Regions from separate parts of the Homo sapiens genome. Here region 2 is linked to region 1. The links are contacts of gene promoters, found by promoter capture Hi-C in human tissues and cell types (Jung and others, 2019). All regions are on one chromosome and are shown on one strand. The core of a region is centred on a gene start or on the middle of the fragment in contact, and the rest is flanking DNA. Distances in the headings are between cores, read along the strand shown. Region 1 holds the start of POU3F1 (POU class 3 homeobox 1). Region 2 has its middle 66 kb from the start of MACF1.

Region 1 (3,181 bases), core at 681-3,180:
AAGCGGGGTGGGGCGCATCCTTATAGGAGAGAAGAGGCGTGTAGCGAATAAAGTGACAGCCCCCCACCCTGGACCCGCAGGCTCAGGAGTCCACGCGGGGAGAGGGGATGGAGAACTCTCCTCGCTTCGTCCTCTCTCCCGGGGAATCCCTAACCCCGCACTGCGTTACCTGTCGCTTTGGGGAGGCCGCTGCCGGGATCCGGCCCCGAACAGCCCGGGGGGGCAGGGGCGGGGGTCGTCGAGGGGATGGGGGCAGAGAGCAGGCGGCGGGCAGGATGCCCGGGGTGAGTTGGCGAGTTCCGGATCTTCGCTCCTCTCTCCCGGGGCTCGGGCGACGCAGCCTACCGGGCTGTCTTCGCCGCTCACCGGAGAGGGTCGTCCGGGTGTTTGGTTTTGTTCGAAAGTTTCTGGGCTTTTTTTTTTTTTTGTAAAATCCAAAGCAACCGAACAAAAAGAGTCCAGGCCGCGCGGGCGGGCTGCGCGCCCGCGCCCTGCAGCGCGCCGGCGGGGGCCCGGCCCGCGGGGTCACTGCACTGAGCCGGGCAGTGTGTGGTGGTGGTGGTGGTGCAGCGCCGCCGGCGGGGGCGGTGGGGGCGCGGAGGGTGGCGATGCGCCGCCCCCGCCAGGCCCTAGCTCCCCAGGCGCGTATACATCGTCCATGGGCGGGTGGCCCGCGCCGGCCGCAGGGGTCATGCGCTTCTCCTTCTGCCGCCGGTTGCAGAACCAGACGCGCACCACCTCCTTCTCCAGCTGCAGGCTGTCTGCCAAGCCGGTGATCTCGTGCGCCGAGGGCTTGGGGCACTTGAGAAAGTGGCTCTCGAGCGCGCCTTTGACCCCCACCTCGATGGACGTGCGCTTCTTGCGCTTGCGGCCCTGCGCCGCGATCTTGTCCAGGTTGGTGGGGCTGCCGCTGGACGAGTCGGTCTCCTCCAGCCACTTGTTGAGCAGCGGCTTGAGCTTGCACATGTTCTTGAAGCTCAGCTGCAGGGCCTCGAAGCGGCAGATGGTGGTCTGCGAGAACACGTTACCGTAGAGCGTGCCCAGCGCCAGCCCCACGTCGGCCTGCGTAAAGCCCAGCTTGATGCGCCGCTGCTTGAACTGCTTGGCGAACTGCTCCAGGTCGTCCGAGCTGGGCGCATCCTCGTCCGAGTGCTCGCCCACCGATGAGCCGCCGCCGCCCGCGCCCGGGTGCAGGTGCGCCGCCGCCGCGTGCAGGCCGCCCGCGTGTGCATGTCCGTGTGCGTGTCCGTGGGCGCCCAGATGCGGCGGCGGCGACGGCTCCAGCTGCGCCTCGTGGCCATCCTCGTGCAGCGCGTGGTGCAGGCCCGGCCCCGCGCCGCCACCGCCCGCCGCCAGCATCCCGGCCAGGCCGCCGCCGCCGCCCCCCGGGTAGGCCGCCTGCGCGTACAGCCCGAGCGGCTGGGGCTGGTGGCCCCCGCTGGCCCCGGGCGAGGGCGACATGGCCGGGCCCAAGTGGTGCGCTGTGCTGCCCTGCGCCCATGCCGCGCCCGCGTGGGCCGCCCCCTGGTGCACCAGGCGCGCGTGGAAACCTCCGCCGCCGCCGCCGTCGTCGGCTCGGCCGGTGCCGCCGCCGCCTGCCTTGCCGTGTTCTAGGTGCGGGCCGCCGGCCCAATCGCCGCCGCCGCCTCCTCCCGTGGGTAGCCACTGGGGGTGCGCTAGGCCCACGGGGTGGCCCGCGCCCGCGCCCAGCCACTCGTGGTGCATCAGCTTCTGCACTTCGCGGTACGCGGCCCCTGCATGCAATCGCTCCGCGGCCGCCGCCGCCGCCGCCGCCGCCGCGGCGTCCGGGTGCATAAGCGGCCCGGTGCCCCCGGCTCCGCCACCGGGGCCCCGCGGCAGGTACTGCGCGGTGGTGGCCATGCCGCCCCGCGCCCTGCGCCGCGCCGCCGCCGCCGCTCCGCTCCGTCTGCGGGCCCCGCCGCCTCGCTCCGCCGGCTTAAAGCCCCGACCCGCTCGGCGCTCCGGAGCCCCACCCCGCCCGCCGCCCATTGGCTGCCCGCGGAGCTGCCTCCCGCCTCCCCTGCCCGGCCCCCGCCCCGCGCGCCCGCCCGCCACCCTGCCCGGCCGCCCAGAGCTCTCCATTGGGCGTCGCTCCCGGGGTCCCGCGCGCCGGCCGTGCTGATTGGCCGCTGGGGCTTCATTCACGGCCCCCCTACCGTCCGCGTACACACTCACGCCCCGGGGGCGCGGCCGCCACGTGGGGAGTGGCGCGGGGGTGGCCCTGGGACCGCACCCCCTCTCGTCCTGGCTGTGTGGGCCCCGCTTTCCCCCAGCGCTGGAGACTCCGAGCCCGGCCGGTCCCACATTCCACGCGAGCTGAATTCCCGCCCGCATCCCGCCCGGGCAGCAGGGATTGCCGGCTCCGGGAGGCGCTCGGGCTCCGAGAAGCGGCTCAGCCCCGCGCCCCTCCCTCCTCAGTACCGCTGCCGGCGGACCAGGATTCCCGCGGGTCCTGGCGGCTGCGAGCGCGAGGCGGCGCGGATTCGCGGCTCGGTTCCGGCGCGACTGCTCACCGCGCCCGCCTCGCCTCCCGCGGCTGCCAGCGTGCACTGGGCGCTCCTCGGCGCGTCTGCCCGGCCCGTCTCGGCTTTCCTTCTCCTTCCTCTAGTCCCAGCGTCACAACTCCGCCGACCTCCTCTGCCCTGAGAGCGCGTCCGGTGCGGGCGGAGTCGGACGGACTCTGGCTTCACGCCTCGCGCGGGCACACCTTCTCCCGGGCACTGAGGCCCAGGTGAGTACCGCGCGGGCAGCTGGGGCTGGGACGGCGGGCGGCAGCGGTTCTACAGTCCTACGCGAGCCCCTGGTACCCGGCCGCGCTCCGGGGTTCCAGAAGGAGAAGATCTCGAGGTGGAGACTGTGGCTCCGGGGAAAACGCTGCTGGCAAGGGCGCTAGTTGGGGGTGGACGTTGGGCCCAGGGGTATCTGACCTGCGCCGCTGCAGCCTTCTCGCTCCTTCTCCCAGCTTGAACGGCTCATCGGCTGTGGTCGTGGTGGGATCACGCCCCGGGAGAGGAGAAGGATGGGCTCAGGGAAGGGGCTCGGGCTCTCCAGAAATCCGGCGTGCAGGCCGGGAGCTGTCCAGCCTCGCTAAGAGCCCTGGGCTAGAGTTTGCCCGGACTTGCCTGGAGCTGCTGAAAAGGGAATTGAGATTGAGGAGGCC
Region 2 (3,388 bases), core at 133-2,632, 1.1 Mb after region 1:
TTTTTTAAAGACAGGTTCTTGCTCTGTCGCACAGAGTGGAGTGCAGTGGCACAATCATAGCTCACTGTAACGTGTCTACCAGGCTCAACAGATCCTCCCACCTCAGTTTCTCAAGTATCTGAGACTACAGGCATGTGCCATTACACCTGGCTAATTTTTAAATTTTTTGTAAAGACGAAGTCTCATTTTATTGCCCAGGCTGGTCTCAAACTCCTGGGCTCAAGCCATCCTTCTGCCCTGGCCTCCCAAAGAGCTGGGATTATAGGCATGAGCCACTGTGCCCCAATTTATTTATTTTTTATTTTTTTACCTTCAGATGCTCTTTGGCAAGCAAGTAAGGATTGCTCAATTAAAAGTATTGCATTATCTCATTCAACTATATGAACATACAAAACTTAAAAAAATTTGTCTGAGGCCAGGCGTGGTGGGTCATGCCTGTATTCCCAGCACTTTGGGAAGCCGAGGCAGGTGGATCACCTGAGGTCGCGAGTTTGAGACCAGCCTGGCCAACATGGAGAAACCCCATCTCTACTAAAAATACAGAAATTAGCCGGGCATGGTAGCACGAGCCTATAATCCCAGCTACTAGGGAGGCTGAGGCAGGAGGATTGCTTGATCCTGGGAGGCGGAGGTTGCAGTTAGCCGAGATTGTGCCACTGCACTCCAGCCTGGGTAACAGTCGAGACTCCATCTCAAAAAAAAAAAAAAAAAAAAAAAGTCTGAAACAGTATTGGAAGCTTTAATTTCTATTTCAACAAATTTGTGCTACTCTGGATTATGTGCTACCTGTCACTCAAGGATCTTGTTGAAATACTTTCTTGTACAAAAACAACGAATCAAAACAAAACAAAACAAAAATGAGTGTACTTCATGTTGTATTTGAGTAGAGGTCCTAACAAACACTTGAAAAATGGCTGGTGGTAGGCTGGACGCGGTGGCTCACGCCTGTAATCCCAGCACTTTGGGAGGCCGAGGTGGGCAGATCACAAGGTCAGGAGATCGAGACTACCCTGGCTAACATGGTGAAAACCTGTCTCTACCAAAAATACAAAAAAAATTAGCCGGGCATGGTGGCGGGTGCCTGTAGTCCCAGCTACTCTGGAGGCTGAGGTGGGAGAATGGCGTGAACCTGGGAGGCGGAGCTTGCAGTGAGCAGAGATCGCGCCACTGCACTCCAGCCTAGGCGACAGAGAGAGACTCTGTCTCAAAAAAAAAGAAAAATGGCTGGTGTTAGATGAACACAGCTTTCTCTCATTTCAATAATGATATTGAAAGGTTTTAAAGGCCAAATAATTTTTTTTTTGGAGACAGAGTCTTGCTCTGTCACCCACGCTGTAGTGCAATGGCGCAATCTCAGCTCACTGCAACCTCCGCCTCCCAGGTTCAAGTGATTCTCCTGCCTCAGCCTCCTGAGTAGCTGGGATTACAGGTGAGTGCCACCATGCCCGGCTAATTTTTGTATTTTTAGTAGAGATGGGGTTTTACCATGTTGGCCAGGCTGGTCTCGAACTCCTGACCTCAGGTGATCCACCCACCTTGGCCTCCCAAAGTGCTGGGATTACAGGCGTAAGCCACCGCGCCTGGCCTAGGCCAAATAATTTTTATGAACTGTCTGGAGAAGCTTTGATGAGGAATAACAGTATCATTTTCAAATTGGCTTCTGCACAAACTACGTAATTTTGAGTATTCCATGTTAATGCATATGATGTAGCTGGCTCTTAATCACCCTATGAAAATGGAGTACAAGGCATGCTGAATACTTCAAATTCACAGATAACTACTAAAACTAATTTTAATCAACTGTCTCGTCATTTATTCCTACTTGAATTACCAAAGATGCTTGCTTATGGGGGGAAATTGAACAGATTTTTTTTCCTCTTGTTTACCCTTTACCTTTTTTAAAATGTTATCTGCCACTGTTTTTTTTTTTTTTCAGACAGTCTCGCTCTGTCGCTGCAACCTCTGCCTTCCAGGTTCAAGCGATTCTCCTGCCTCAGCATCCCAAGTAACTGGGATTACAGGTGTCCCCTACCACGTCCAGCTAATTTTTGTATTTTTAGTAGAGATGGGGTTTCACCATGTTGGCCAGGCTGGTCTCAAATTCCTGACCTCAAGTGATCCTCCCATCTCAGCCTCCCAAATTTGCCACTATTCTTTATATTCCAGCTAAAATGAACTAGTGCTTTCTGCTTTTTTTTTTCCTAGCTTTCCTGCTTTCATGCCTTTGCTCATGCTGTATCCTGTGCCTGCATTTTCCTTTAATTTCTACATTATATTTGGTCCTTACATATCCATCTCAAATGTTACTTTTTGTGGATCCTTCCCTGATTATCTCAGATACAAGTTATATCATCTTTCTGAACTGACATAATATTATTGAAAGAAATACACTTAAAAGTAATAGTAATAACTGACAACATTCAGAGTCTGTTACAAAATGTTTTCACATGTATTAGCTCATTGGAACCTCACAGATGTTTTTCATCACTCCTGTTTTACAGCTGAGGAAATTAAGGCTTAAGGAGATTAAGTAACTTGCCTGAGGTTACCCATAATTAGAACTAAATCTTTTTTTTTTTTTTTAATTTTTTTTAGAGACAAGGTCTTGGCTGTTGCACAGGCTGCAGTGCAGTGGTGTAAACATGGCTCACAGCAGCCTCAAACTCCTGGGCTCAAGAGATTGTCCCACTCCAGCCTCCTGAGTAGCTAGGACTATAGGTGTATGCCACTACACCCAGCTAAATTTTTGTGTTTTTTGTAGAGATGGGGTCTCACTGTGTTGCCCAGGCTGGTCTTGAACTCCTGACCTGAAATGATCCTTCTGCGTTAGTCCTCCAAAGTGCTGGGATTACGGGCATGAGCCATCATACCTAGCATAAATCTAAATCTTATGACCTCAAATCCCATGTTTTTTCCACCAAACAGTGCTATCTTACGATTCTTATCACTTGCTACTATGGGTTAGAATTACTTGTGTAAATGTCACATCTGGCCTACTACTTTGTACTGTCCTTAGATGAAGAGTTAATGCCTTATTCTTTGTCTCTGACATCCCATAGCACAGAGTATTGCGTATAATAAGGCTTCAATAACCATTGCTGAAAGGCTGACAAGTTGAAGAAATGTTGATGAATGCATGTGTCTAGCACAGTGCCTCGCACATAGATGCCTAATAAACATTTATTGAATTTAATTGTAAAATGGATCAAAGACCATAGTTAATAAGAGCTTATAGGGCACTTAATAAGTGCCGGGCAACTGGGCACGGTGGCTCACGCCTGTGATCCCTGCACTTTGGGAGGCTGAGGCAGGCGGATCACGAGGTCAGGAGATCAAGACTATCCTGGCCAACATGGTGAAACCCCGTCTCTACTAAAAATACGAAAAT

Evidence for each region. Contacts are between HindIII fragments. The study calls those that stand out against the background at their distance.
Region 2: a contact is called between a fragment that was not itself captured here and the fragment with the promoter of POU3F1 in region 1, in 1 of the 25 tissues and cell types used here (heart left ventricle).

The regions. Positions count from the first base shown.
Region 1 is chr1:38,044,863-38,048,043 of GRCh38, forward strand. It overlaps POU3F1 (POU class 3 homeobox 1), which reads right to left and starts at 1,931. Exons shown (of 1, transcript NM_002699.4): 1 at 1-1,931. The coding sequence starts at 1,881. The coding sequence ends at 526. MIR3659HG (MIR3659 host gene) reads left to right here and starts at 2,272. Exons shown (of 5, transcript NR_168386.1): 1 at 2,272-2,752. RefSeq lists a silencer at 1,992-2,321 and enhancers at 2,234-2,734, 2,735-3,181. The HindIII fragment of the contact is 7,503 bases long and covers 1-3,181 here.
Region 2 is chr1:39,137,379-39,140,766 of GRCh38, forward strand. It overlaps a transcript of MACF1 not described here. Among named protein-coding and RNA genes, the nearest start is that of MACF1, 66 kb to the right of the region's middle. RefSeq lists an enhancer at 2,772-3,388. The HindIII fragment of the contact is 5,998 bases long and covers 1-3,388 here.